5 separate regions of the Homo sapiens genome follow, and all the other regions are linked to region 1. Evidence: promoter capture Hi-C in human tissues and cell types (Jung and others, 2019). All regions are on one chromosome and are shown on one strand. Each heading gives the region's core, a stretch centred on a gene start or on the middle of the fragment in contact. The rest is flanking DNA. Distances are from core to core; before and after follow the strand shown.

Region 1 (2,698 bases), core at 98-2,597:
TTTTTAGTAGAGATGGGGTTTCACCATGTTGGTCAGGCTGGTCTCGAACTCCTGACCTCGTGATCCACCCACCTCGACCTCCCAAAGTGCTGGGATTACAGGCATGAGCCACGGCGCCCGGCCAAGACACCACTTTCTTAAACCTTGAAAGAATGACTTTTTTTTTTTTAAATAGGTATGGAAGGAAAGTGTGATTTGAGACAACTCTAGGGTCTTAAATCCCAGAATTTATAATAGATATCTCCCTGAAGTTAAAACATAAGCCTTTTTGCTGCAATGGAAGCAAGCCACTTAAGGTCAGAAAGGTACTGCTTTACTTTTCCGCATTTCCAAGGTGAGGTCTTCCTCTAAAGGAAGATTAGCTCTTGGCAATCTGGGAGTTGGCTGAACTGGTCAGAAAGCAAAAGGATCACACAGTTTGAGGAAGAGGAGTGGTGGTAAAAATCCCTAATGTCACAGTCTCCTCTGTGTCTAGAGCACAATGTTCATGATACAAATGAGTTAGCTTTCTGGCAGAAAAGAAAGAAGGTGGGTGAGAAGCCAGGTCTTTGATCTGCATCTATATACATCATCAGGTTCATGTTTGAGTTTATATACCCCAGGCCCAGACACAGCTTCCCTGGTTCTAAATCTCCTGTAAAGAGCCCCAGGCTACTCCCTGTTCACAGGTTATAAACTGAGAGAAACAAAGGAAAAAACAGGGGACTCACAGGAGAAGCTGGAAAGAATTGCAGTAAGCTCTTTGAACTTTCCAGAGTCTAGAATGCTCTCCACTTAGAAAGGGAATCCCTTTCATTTTTTTCTAGCCATCCCCAGTGACTTAGGCTCTAATTTAGTCCCAGTATAAGAGAGAGAACACCAACACCAAGAACTGGAGAGGAGACATGATCTTGATTGCCTAGAAAAACTTTTATCCTTCATGTCCAAATTCAAGACAAAATATTAATCTATTCCTAGACCTAGGTTTCCCATCTTCTTCTTTACCACCAAGAGTCCCAAGTTTCACCTAAACTACAGTCATATTTTCACTATCTCCAGATAAGGAGTGCTCATCTAATTTTCTGTAAGTCACCAAAAAATGCAAAACGTCTTTGGAGAGGTAGGGAGAAGGAAGACTGAAACTGGTCATTGGAGATCCTTATAAGGGGGTAGGAAAAGAGAAGGAGAAATACATTAAGGACACTGTAATTATGGCCACATTCAGCTGTTTAATCAGTGATTAACACTGCCTGGGGTGATAAATACTTTACTCAATTATAAACTAAGCAAGCAGACAGGTTGACGGAAAAAAAAACTTACCCTGCTAAGTCCTCAGCTTCCTTCCTTCTCTCTTTCCTCCAAGTGAAATGAGTGCTTGATCTCTTCAGATCTAGGTTGTGGCTTACTTGCAGCTGTCCCTTCATATCACTTTCCTTTGCAAACTGCTGAAATGCTGAGTCTCAGTGATTAAGTGTGCCCTGCCAACCAGACAGACAAGGCTGAATTCTCCCTAATGAGGCAAAGAGGGATCTGTCCCCCTGCCTGAGGGCTTCTCTCTAACCTTTGTTCTCTGCCAAGGGGGCTCAGGACTGTCAACACTCCCAAGTGTTAGCCAAGTAAAGGCCAGGCAGGCTGACAAAAAATGAAACCTGCTGCTTCCTAGACTTCTCTCACTCAAGGCAATATTTCTGTTCTCAGTTTACAGCTTCAGAAGAAAACCCTTTGGATTAGTGCAGAAGTCAATATTTGATTGGAAAGGGTAAGCACCTTTCCAACCAAGTGGGAGGAACCAGAGGACCCTCTGGAGTTCTGTTTGTTGATCTAGACACAGGATGAGTTCCCCCAGGCCTGGTGTCCTTTTTCAGCATAACAAACATTGTTCAAACAAAACTCAACAATGTCCAATCTTGGATTAAGTAGAAGGGAGAAAATAAATGGCCATTTAATGGTACAGAATGAAATCAGTTGTAGGGGAAACATGCAGAATTAACTTGTAAAATTCACTTTCCCTGAAAGAAGGGTAAGATAACTCTCTGAGTGAGAGAGTCATCAGGAGCACTTTACCTGTATTAAGAGAGGAATAAATGCTTCTGGGATATTAAACAAAACCAAAATACTAGTTAATGACTAAAAATACATACTATTTCTAGGAAAAGAAAATAGAAAAGAATCAGCTCAACCATTCTCTTATCCTCCTTGTAATTGCAGCTGATCCAGGAAATTCAATTCCACAGTCCTAGCTTCTTTCTACTTACAGCTAGCCTATCTGAAGTTGTTAGGGCAGTGGTCCTAAAAGACTGCAAGATCTTTCTTACCCTCAAAAAATTTTTTTAAAATTTTTAAATAAAAAAGTTCTGACTTTCTGCTTATATCTGACCCCAGCTCTCACTTACCTGCTTCTTTGAACATCATCAAACTGGGGAACAGAATCACTCGCAATGAGGTCCCGGAATGTGGCAAATCAAATCCACACAGGAACCCCAAACTGTAAAAAGTACAAACTACATGCAGGGAAGGTGGAAGAAAAGTGTTAAGGATTCAACCAAACACTGCATAACATTATGTAGAATAGCTGTGGATAAAGGAAAATCAGTTGCAATAGGCAAAAACCCTAAATAAAATAGGGGTAATTCACTTTGTGCAAAAGTTTCAGGCCAACTTCAAATTTAACAGGCTTCAAAATTTATCTGAGAACCTCAAATGTTTTGAGTTCTGTTAA
Region 2 (2,698 bases), core at 97-2,596, 230 kb before region 1:
CAGAGAAGAAATAGGGGGTTGGAGGCCCCACACACAATTCCCACTGGGGCACTGCCTAGTGGAGCTGTGGGAAGGGGGTCACCATCTTCCAGACCCCAGAATGATAGATTCACCTTGCACCCTGTACCTAGAAAGCTGCAGGCATTCAGGCCAGGTGCAGTGGCTCATGCCTGTAATCCCAGCACTTTGGGAGGCCAAGATGGGCAGATCACTAGAGACCAGGAGTTCGAGACCAGCCTGGCCAACATGGTGAAACCCCATCTCTACTAAAAATACAAAAATTAGCTGAGTGTAGTGGTGCTCGCCTGTAATCCCAGCTATTCAGGAGGCTGAGGCAGGAGAACTGCTTGAACCCGGGAGGCAGAGGTTGCAGTGGGCCGAGACCCCACCACTACACTCCAGCCTGGGCGACAGAACGAGACTCTGTCTCTCAAAAAAGAAAAAAAAGAAAAAAAGAAAAAAGAAAGCTGCAGGCATTCAACTCCACCCATGAGAGCAACCTTGGGAGCTGAACCCTGCAAAGCCACAGGGGTAGAGCTGCCCAGGGTCTTGGAAGCCTACCGCTTGCACCTTGTCATGGGACATCAAGGGGTTCTAAGAGTTAATGACTCCCCTACTGGGTTTTGAACTTGCATGGGATCTGTAGCCCCTCTCTTTTGGAACAGAAATGTTTATCTAACGCCTATACTCCCATTGTATCTTGGAAGTAAATAACTTGTTTTTGATTTACAGGCTCATAGCTGGAAGGGATGTGCCTTGTCTCAGAGGAGACGTGGGACTTTGGACTTTTGAATTAACACTGGAATGAGTCAAGACTTTTGAGACTTTTTGGAAACCATAATTGTATTTTGCAATGTGAGAAGGATATGAGATTTGGGAGGAGCCAAGGGCAGGATGCCCAAATCTCATGCTGAATTGTAATCCCCAATGCTAGAGGTGGGGCCTGGTGGGAGGTGTTTGGGTCATGGGGGAGGATCCCTTATGGCTTTGTACTGTCTTTGCGATAGTGAGTTCCCATGACATCTGGTCATTTAAAAGTGTGTGGCACCTCTCTTGCTCCTGCTCCCACTTAACATTCCCCCATGAGTAAAAGCTTTGTAAGTCCTCTGCAGAAGCAGATGCCAGCACTATGCTTCTACAGCCTCCAGAACTGTGAGCCTATTAAATCTCTTTTCTTATAAATTACGTGGTCTCAGATATTTCTTTATAGCAAGGCAAGGATGACCTAATACATAGCTATAGCTGTTTGCATCTGAAAAGACAGCAAGCAGTACCAGATAGTCCATAGTACATGTAGGCAGAATAGTTCTGTGACCAGAATTTAATCTTCCTGTTCTGAGAAATGGTAGGTTATTGAGGCTTAGAATAGTCCACGAAGGTATTGCCAGGGCAAGGGGAGTTTGAGCCAAAACTCATGTAACTGTGTTGCCATAAGAACTGTTTATGTTTACATAATTAATATTTACTTCTTTTTTCCACTCCAAGATTTGGTATAAGGGGAAAGAAGTTACATTTTTCATCTTCTTATGCTCATAAAGCATCTTCCATTGCCAAATCCTCCAGCTTTTGTTCTATGGAAAGAGATGAGGAAGACTCTATAATCGTCTCAGAAGGAATAATTGAGGAATACCTAGCATTCGATCACATAGATATGTGAGTATTATGCCTTTTAAGCTTTTTACTCCCCTCTTATTTTGTGTATTAATACCTATTTTTTCTAAATGATGCTACCAATGTATATTATTAAATATATGCCAGTTTCTGTTATTTATTTTATGTTATTTCTCAGGTATCCAGAATTTATGTTCTTATTGCCTCCATGTACTAGACTTCCTTGTGTATTTTATAACTTCACACATCATTTGCCTGTTCCTGAGATTAGAGATTTTAAAATAAGTTTATTTTTTCCCCACATAGTTTGATTTTACCCTTTTGCAAATTACCACCAGTGGGAACTTTGAAACCTTTTAAAAGAGCAGTTGAAGAGATATGGACTTTGTTTACATAAATTCTGTTTGAAAAATGTATATACAGGCTGGGCGCGGTGGCTCACACTTGTAATCCCAGCACATTGGGAGGCCGAGGCAGGCAGATCACTTTGGGTCAGGAGTTTGAGACTAGCCTGGCCAACATGGTGAAACCCCATCTCTACTAAAAATACAAAATTAGCTGGGCATGGTGATGCGTGCCTCTAATGTCAGCTACTTGGGAGGCTGAGGCCAGAGAATCGCTTGAACCCGGGAGGCGGAGGTTGCAGTGAGCCGAGATCACGCCACTGCATACCAGCCTGGGCAACAGAGCAAGACTCCATCTCCAAAAACAAAACAAAACAAAAAAGAAAAGAAAAAGGTATAAACAGTTTGTTTAAAACCTTATGGTTGGCACAGATTTTATAATTAATAATGTCTATTTATATCTATTCTAACTATATTCTAACAGTAGACCTATCACATAGATATGATTTATCTTCTTTACTGGATAGGTGAGAATCAGAGTAGTTAATGATTTGTCTCAAGTAAAGCTAAAACCAAAACCTTATTCATCTGATTCTCAATCCAGTCTTCTCTTCACTATTCCTTGCTACCTTTCTGTGACATTAACCTGTTAAACTATTCCTCTAAGCCTTTAAAAGTTCCAGATTTGATAGTCACAGCAGCATATTTGAAAATAAGTGAGAATTTCTTTTTAGGCTGTGCAG
Region 3 (2,698 bases), core at 143-2,642, 180 kb after region 1:
GGTCAGGAATTCTAGAATAGCCTGGGCAACATAGCAAAACCCTTTTTCTATAAAAAATACAAAAATTAGCTGGTCATGATGGCTCACACTGTGGTCCCAGCTACTCGGGAGGTTGAGGTGGGACGATCACCTGAGCTTGGGAAATTGAGGCTGTAGTGAGCGAAATCACTCCAGCCTGGGCAACGAAGAGATCAGTCTCAAAAAAAAAAAAAAAAAAAGGCCCAGCACAGTGGCTCACACCTGTAATCCCAGCACTTTGGGAGGCCAAGGTGAGAGGATTACTTGAGGCCAGGAGTTCAAGACCAGCCTGGCCAACATGGCAAAACTCGTCTCTACTAAAAATACAGAAATTACTTAAGCCAGGCAAGGTGGCTCACGCCTGTAATCTTTGGGAGGCCGAGGTGGGCAGATCACTTGAGATCAGGAGTTCAAGACTAGCCTGGCGAACATGGTGAAACCCTGTCTCTTCTAAAAATACAAAATTAGCCAGGGATGGTGGCAAGTGCCTGTAATGCTAGCTACTTGGGAGGCTGAGGCAGGAGAACTGCTTGAGCCCAGGAGGCAGAGGCTGCAGTGAGCCGAGATTGCGCCACTGCACTCCAGCCTAGGCGACAGCAAGACTCCATCTCAAAAAAAAAAAAAAAAAAAAAAAAAAATCAAGTTCCATTCATGTATCCTCAGCAAACTAACACAGGAACAGAAAACCAAATGCCACGTTTTCACTTATAAGTGGCAGCTGAACAATGAAAACACATGGACACAGGGAGGGGAACAACACACACTAGGGCCTGTGCGGGGGTGGGAAGAGCATCAGGATAAACAGCTAATGTATGCAGGGCTTAATACCTAGGTGATGAGTTAATAGGTACAGCAAACCACCATGGCACACATTTATGTAACACGCCTGCACATCCTGCATGTGTATCCAGGAACTTAAAATTAAATTAAATTCTAAAAAAAATACAAAAATTATCTGGGCGTGGTGGCAGGTGCCTGTAATCTTGCCTCCTCAGGAGGCTGAGGCACAAGAACCATTTAAACCTGGGAGGTGGAGACTACAGTGAGCTGAGCTCACACCACTGCACTTCAACCTTAACAACAGAGAGAGACTCTGTCTCAAAAACAAAACAAAACAAAACAAAACTTAAAAAAATGTTTTCAGAGAATAAATGTAGCTTTGATACAAAAGAAAAACTAAAATGGGATGGGAGGGGTAGAATGAGAAGAAAAAAGCCCAGTTACAAAATAAGCAAAGAATAAGCAATTCCACTGAAAGAAATACAGCCAATAAAGAAATAAAAAGATGTTAGGCTGGGCACAGTGGCTCACACCTGTAATCCCAGCACTTTGGGAGGCCAAGGCGGGCAGATCACCTAAGGTCGGGAGTTCGAGACCAGCCTGACCAACACGGAGAAACCCGTCTCTACTAAAAATACAAAATTAGCTGGGCATGGTGGCACATGCCTGTAATCCCAGCTACTCAGGTGGCTGAGGCAGGAGAATCGCTTGAAACCAGGAGGTGGAGGTTGCGGTGAGCTGAGATCGCACCATTGCACTGCAGCCTGGGCAACAAGAGCGAAACCCTGTCTCAAAAAAAAAAAATTAGCCAGGCGGTGGCGCATGCCTGTAATCCCAGTTACGTGGGAGGCTGAGGTGGGAGAATCACTTGAACCCAGGAGGCGGAGGTTGCAGTGGGCTGAGATCATGCCATTGCACTCCAGCCTGGGCAACAGAGAGAGACTCTGTCTAAAAATAATAATAATAAAAATAAAAAATAATAATAAATATGGAAAATATTCAACTTCATCTCAAATAAATGGAAATTTAAAATGAGATCACTTGGCCAGGTGCAGTGGCTCATACGTGTAATCCCAGCACTTTGGAGGGCTGAGGTGGAAAAATTCCTTGAGTTCAGGAGTTCAAGATCAGCCTGGGCAATATAGTGAGACCTCATCTCTTCAAAAAAATTAAAAATTAGACTTTCTCTTCCTGGTTCCTAGCAGAGTCAGGAAAAGCTTTGTTGAGAGGGCGGGGTGAAAAAAACTTTTTTAAAATTAGCTGGGCATGGTGGTGCACATCTGTAGTTCCAGCTACTTGGGAGGCTGAGGTGAGAGGATTGTTTGAGTCCAGGAGGCAAAAGCTGCAGTAAGCCGTGATTGCACTGCACTCCAGCCTAGGCAACAAAGACCCTGTCTTAAGAAATAAAAATAAAAATAAAAATAAAAATAAGGCAGTGGTTCACACCTGTAATCTCAGCATTCTGGGAGTGCAAGGTTGACGGATCATCTGAGGTCAGGAGTTCGAGACCAGCCTGGCCGACATGGTGAAACCCCATCTCTACTAAAAATACAAAAATTAGCCGAGCTTGGTGGCAGGTGCCTGTAATCCCAGCTACTCGAGAGGCTGAGGCAGGAAAATTGCTTGAACCCGGGAGGCGGAGGTTGCAGTGAACCGAGATTGCGCCACTGCACTCCAGCCTGGGTGACACAGCAAGACTCCATCTCAAAACATTAATAAATAAAAATAAATAAAATGAGATCACTTGTCTTCTCTTTTTAGCAGCAGGGTCTCACTCTCACTCTGACGTGTAGTCAGACTGAGGCTGGAGTGTAGTGGCATGATTTAGCTGACTGCAACCTCAAACACCTGGGCTCAAGGGATCTTCCTGCCTCAGCCTCCCAAGTAGCCAGGACTATAG
Region 4 (2,698 bases), core at 124-2,623, 180 kb before region 1:
ATCCCTAGACTAGACCAACCCCTACATATTACACGAGGAAAATGAAGCCCACAATATTATTAACACAGTAAGTTAATGGCAAAACCAGAATCATAATTCAGGTTGACTGACTCCCAGGCTATCTTTCTATTAACTATTATATATTCTCTCTAAAGAGCTGGAAGAAAGATCACCTATGGTAATATGTAGGTTGTTATTACAAACCCAGCAGCCCCACGATAATGGCAAAGATGGTAAGAAAAGCCTCTAGAAAAATATTCACATTATGAAAGTCCTGAATTAAGCCAGTACCTCCCTCCTAATTTCCCACCCTTAACATGGGGCAGGCAAATGACAGAGGCATCTGTGTCATACCTTGATCATGTACTTGTAGGCCTGCTCAGCTTCTAATTGCCGTCCAACCTGAAAAAAGTGCAGCAGTTGGTGATGATGACAGGTCATAAACATTATGGTAAGGAAAATACATTGCCTCAGCTAAGGCAGAGGCACCTACACCTAAGGCAGAGGCTTCTACACCTTCCAGTTAAGAACTTCTGAATTGAGAGGAAAAACTAGCAAATGAAAGGTGGTAGGGAGAAAAAGGTTTTTTTTTTAAAAAATTCCTCCTGGCCAGGCGTGGTGGCTCATGCCCATAATCCCAGCACTTTGGGAGACCGAGGTGGGTGGATCACAAGGTCAGGAGATCGAGATCATCCTGGCTAACACGGTGAAACCCCGTCTCTAATAAAAATACACAAAATTAGCCGGGTGTGGTGGCATGCGCCTGTAGTCCCAGCTACTAGGGGAGCTGAGGCAGGAGAATCGCTTGAACCCAGGAGGCAGAGGTTGCAGTGAGCCGACATCATGCCACTGCACTCCATCCTGGGCAACAGAGTGAGACTCCATCTCAAAAAAAAAAAAAAAAAAAAAAAGGAAAAAAAATTCCTCCTTCCTTTTGAAAAGCTTAAAGATAACTTGGCCTCTCACCTTTTTGAAAGCACCATGAGTCATTTGTTCCTCTTAGGACTGAAGCCATTCTGTTAATAATAATTAACACTTACCACTCCGTACTATGTGATTTACATTGTTTTCATTATTGATGTTGTTTTTAGTGCTTTATTTAAGTTCATTCTTAATCCTCAAGACCTAGGAGATAACTACTGTTATTTATTATTCCCAATTTACAGAGAGGATAAGTAACTTGCCAGGGTTATGAAGCTAGTAAGTAGAGGAGCCAGGTTTAAAACAATGCAGTTTGACTCCAGAGTCCAAGTTTTTAACTACTACATTACTCTGTCTCTAGGAATTAGAAAAAGTAGGTATCAGAATTACTTCTATGAAGATCTGGATATGAGATAAGAACATTAACTACTCCCCACCAGTTTATATTATTCTTTGCATGAAGCACTCCTCCAGAAGTTAAATGAGATAATATGAATCCACTATTCTACTTCTTGAGTTTGCTACATAGTTACTTAGAGTATGCAAAGTCACTTGGTAAAGCTTAAATATGTAAGAACCACAGAATATTCGTGTCTGAAGGGGACCTGGGGAATATCTAGTCCAATTTTCTGATTAATGCTAGTCCATATGAAAGTTTTACTGGTTCACAAAACTTTCACACCCTAAACCCTTACTTCCTCCAAATCTACACTTTGAAATGTTCCCAACTGAAGTTCACTGAATTGCCAGCAGCATTTTCCAGCACACCTGCCTTTCCTACCACTATTACTTTGTTTCCCTCCTGCCACAGGGAGGCAGAGGCCCAAATGATGTCAGGATCCAGAATAGCCAAAACAATTTTGAAAAATAATTTTTCTGCTATCATGAACATTGCTGCAGTAAACATCCTTGTACATTTCTTCTTCTTCTCCTTTTCCTTCTTTTTTTTTTTTTTTTTTTGAGACGGAGTCTTGCTCTGTCACCCAGGCTGGAGTGCAATGGCACGATCTCAGCACTCTCACAGTCTCAGCACTGCAACCTCCACCCCCTGGGTTCAAGCGATTCTCCTGCCTCAGCCTCCTGAGTAGCTAGGATTACAGATGTTGTATGTGTCTTCTTGTATTTTTCTTAGGATTATATCTAGATATGACATTGCCAAATTGTAGATATGAATGTAACTAAATAATGCCACATTGTACTTAAAAGTGGTTATGCCAATTTACATCCAATTACAATTATGAGAGTCTTCATCAGTGCTTGTTGTGGGAAGTCAGGGACACTGAACGGAGGGACCGGCTGAAGCCATGGCAGAAGAACATAAATTGTGAAGATTTCTTGGACATTTATTAGTTCCCCAAATTAATACTTTTATAATTTCTTATGCCTGTCTTTACTGCAATCTCTGAACATAAATTGTGAAGATTTCATGGACATTTATCACTTCCCCAATCAATACTCTTATAATTTCCTATGCCTGTCTTTACTTTAATCTCTTAATCCCATCATCTTTGTAAACTGAGGATGTATGTTGCCTCAGGATCCTGTGATGATTACGTTATCTGCACAAATTGTTTGTAGAGCACGTGTGTTTGAACAATATGAAATCTGGGCATCCAAAAGGAACAGGATGGCTGTGATTTTCAGGGAACAAGGGAAATAACTATTGGGCCTGACTGCCTGCAGGGCCGGACAGAACAGAGTCACATTTCTCTTCTTACAAAAGCGAATAGGAGAAATATCGCTGAATTCTTTTTCTCAGCAAGGAACAGCCCTGAGA
Region 5 (2,698 bases), core at 55-2,554, 160 kb before region 1:
AAGGATGTTTCTACTACTGTGAATACAATTTTAGCTAGCATAACATTTACTGAGTTCTTAAGAACTGTTTAGTAGCATAATGGTTAAAATCACAGACTCTCGTTTCAGCCTGCCTGAGTTTGAATGCTGCTTCCACTAATTACTGGTTGTCTGATGTTGGGCAAGTCACTTTACCTTTGGATGTAAAAGTGTCATTATTATATTACTAGTTTTAGTCCACACAGATAGATGTTAATGCTTGAATTACAATTAGTTCCCAGACCACGGGGTTATTCCCCATTCTCTACCCCTCACCTCTTTCTCTTCCAGATAGATGAGCCCCAGTCTCAGGAAGATGAAGTGCATCTCAGAAGCATCCACTACAAAGCTAATGGTTCGTTCATAGCATGCCTTGGCCTCAGAATGATTTCCACTCAGAAAATAGAGATGGCCCTTCAGGCCCCAGACATTGGGGTTCTGGGAAAGTGAAAAGCAAGTAGTATATGGGATAAGGTAGTATTTAAAAGTACCTTGATGATCTTTGTTTAACATTTAAATTTAGATAGATTGTCCATTTCCTTTCTCTTTTCTTTTTCAGATCAACCGTTTTCTTTTTCTAAGAGCACTCAGAAACATAACCATTTAATTGTACAAGGAGACATTTTTCTAGCTCTGCCCTCAGATTTCTTTCTTGCATTCTTCAAAGCCATTTTGGGTGTGGAGTAAATATTAAGAAAAACATTCAAGCATAACCCCAATACTGTTCACATGAGAAAATATAAGAAATCTAGAAAAATTGAAATAAACACTATCAGCTAAAGATATCCTTTTCTCTGCTCTTTGCAAAACTCATGATTACTTTATTATTATTATTTTTTGAGATGGAGTCTTGCACTGTCGCCCAGGCTGGAGAGTGCAATGGCTCAATCTCCGCTCACTGCAACCTCCGCCTCCCAGGTTCAGGCGAGTCTCCTGCCTCACCCTCCTGAGTAGCTGGGATTACAGGCACCTGCCACCACGCCCATCTAATTTTTTGTATTTTTAGTAGAGATGGGGTTTCACTATGTTGGCCAGGCTGGTCTTGAACTCCTGACCTCGTGATCTGCCTGCCTCGGCCTCCCAAAGTGCTGCGATTACAGTTGTGAGCCACCGCGCCCAGCCAACTCATGATTACTTAAGAAAAGCAAATGGAAGGGTATAGAGAGATGAGTTTACTGACAGCTGATGACCACCCTTCTGTTCACCAGAAATCTACGTGTGATATGGCATCACCACCTTTAAATAAAGCCCCTTCTCCAGACTCAAGAGGCTTTAGCAAAAGTCATTACCAGGTAGTCCATCTGGGCTGCTTGTTGAAGGTATTCCTCTGCCTTGGCAAAGTTCTTCTTAAGAATGTGTGTTTGGGCCAGCACCAAGTAATATTCACAGCTGGGGCCTCCTTGAGGGCATAACAGCTCATGTGCAAGCACTCTGTGCACATACTGCAAGGATAATCAGATTATAAGCAACATATAAATGGCTGCATTGCGTCTTTTTCGGTTGAAGGATTCTGTCTCTGATAATAAATAATACGAAATGTATTACAGAATGAAATAATTATCCTCAACTTCAAAAGGTAAAGGGTGAATTACAAACATTCTGCACTTCATAGTTCCATTACCAGCTATTCACCTAGTCACCAAATGAAGACATTACCAAGTGAATAACTTGCAATATTGTACAATTCTGGTCTTGCTGGTCATCATACTAGGTGAGTGTTAGACTGCATGTATTATGCAGCAGACAAAGGCACATCATCAACCACCCCATTTACAAAGGAGGTAACATTTTCAGGCAGCTGACATTGTAAGGAAACTTAAGTGAGGTAAAACTGCCTTTCTAACAATCTAGACTTGAAATCTTAGAAACATAAATGTCTGTTTTGGATCCACCTCCAAACATTGGTTATGTTTACCAGTTTTGTAGTTTGGGTCAATTTTTGTATTTTGTTTTTTTTTTTTTCTTTTTTTAGAGACAGGGTCTTACTCTGTCACCCAGGGCTGCTTACTGCAGCCTTCTGGCCTCAAGCAATCCTCCTGCCTTGGCTTCCCAAAAGTGCTGGAATTATAGGGGTGAGCCCCATGCCTGGCCAAATCTTTGCTTTTTACACTTTATAAGACCTACAAAATTAACAAAGTTAGATATACTTCTTAAGTCGAGGGTAAATCCTTCTTTTCATCTCCCACTGTTCCCATCTCAGCCTATAATGTAGAAAATTCTACATTATACTTACACCTTTTTAGGAGAATACTAGAGGGAACAGCTGCAGCTATTTTTTCCACCTGCCTTCTGGGTCTCTGACCTGGGGGAGCTAATGACTTATTTAGCTGTGGAAGAAGAGAGTCTGTTTCTATTTTGCGGAGGGTTAATGTGTTAAAGCCTCCTGCTTAATGTGGCTCAATCCCACCCAGTTAATAATTCTTGCCCTTTCTTGAGCTTGCCTGCCCTTGAGTAGGGCATGCACTTGGCAGGATCAAAACCAAACACTCCTGGCTCCTGAGTCTTGATCTCTCCTACTGCTTGCTCATGAATATGCTTCTTTCTTCCCATGTAATAGGCAGACTTCCTAGAATGCTCTTCTTCTCTGAGAGGAGGCTTCAATTCTTCAGCTGCTCTACCTGTGACTGCATGGGTAAGTCAAATGTGGGGCTAGTTATGTTGTCCAGCCAAGTTTTACCAA

What was found. Contacts are between HindIII fragments. The study calls those that stand out against the background at their distance.
Region 2: a fragment that was not itself captured here is called in contact with the fragment with the promoter of MSS51 in region 1 in 3 of the 25 tissues and cell types used here (liver, mesenchymal stem cells and spleen).
Region 3: a fragment that was not itself captured here is called in contact with the fragment with the promoter of MSS51 in region 1 in 2 of the 25 tissues and cell types used here (bladder and hippocampus).
Region 4: a fragment that was not itself captured here is called in contact with the fragment with the promoter of MSS51 in region 1 in 3 of the 25 tissues and cell types used here (IMR-90 fibroblasts, bladder and neural progenitor cells).
Region 5: a contact is called between a fragment that was not itself captured here and the fragment with the promoter of MSS51 in region 1, in 2 of the 25 tissues and cell types used here (bladder and mesenchymal stem cells).

Annotation. Positions count from the first base shown.
Region 1 is chr10:73,432,214-73,434,911 of GRCh38, forward strand. It overlaps MSS51 (MSS51 mitochondrial translational activator), which reads right to left and starts at 1,348. Exons shown (of 7, transcript NM_001024593.2): 1 at 1,300-1,348. The HindIII fragment of the contact is 24,221 bases long and covers 1-2,698 here.
Region 2 is chr10:73,207,134-73,209,831 of GRCh38, forward strand. It overlaps FAM149B1 (family with sequence similarity 149 member B1), which reads left to right. Exons shown (of 14, transcript NM_173348.2): 6 at 1,486-1,653. Among named protein-coding and RNA genes, the nearest start is that of DNAJC9, 39 kb to the right of the region's middle. The HindIII fragment of the contact is 5,165 bases long and covers 1-2,698 here.
Region 3 is chr10:73,615,707-73,618,404 of GRCh38, forward strand. It overlaps a transcript of USP54 not described here. Among named protein-coding and RNA genes, the nearest start is that of MYOZ1, 24 kb to the right of the region's middle. The HindIII fragment of the contact is 5,257 bases long and covers 1-2,698 here.
Region 4 is chr10:73,256,015-73,258,712 of GRCh38, forward strand. It overlaps CFAP70 (cilia and flagella associated protein 70), which reads right to left. Exons shown (of 28, transcript NM_001367801.1): 27 at 355-402. All of the region lies in intron 2 of DNAJC9-AS1 (DNAJC9 and MRPS16 antisense RNA 1), which reads left to right. Among named protein-coding and RNA genes, the nearest start is that of MRPS16, 4.7 kb to the left of the region's middle. The HindIII fragment of the contact is 4,219 bases long and covers 1-2,698 here.
Region 5 is chr10:73,274,139-73,276,836 of GRCh38, forward strand. It overlaps CFAP70 (cilia and flagella associated protein 70), which reads right to left. Exons shown (of 28, transcript NM_001367801.1): 23 at 1,308-1,460; 24 at 295-456. DNAJC9-AS1 (DNAJC9 and MRPS16 antisense RNA 1) reads left to right here. Exons shown (of 4, transcript NR_038373.1): 4 at 310-2,698. Among named protein-coding and RNA genes, the nearest start is that of MRPS16, 23 kb to the left of the region's middle. The HindIII fragment of the contact is 5,311 bases long and covers 1-2,698 here.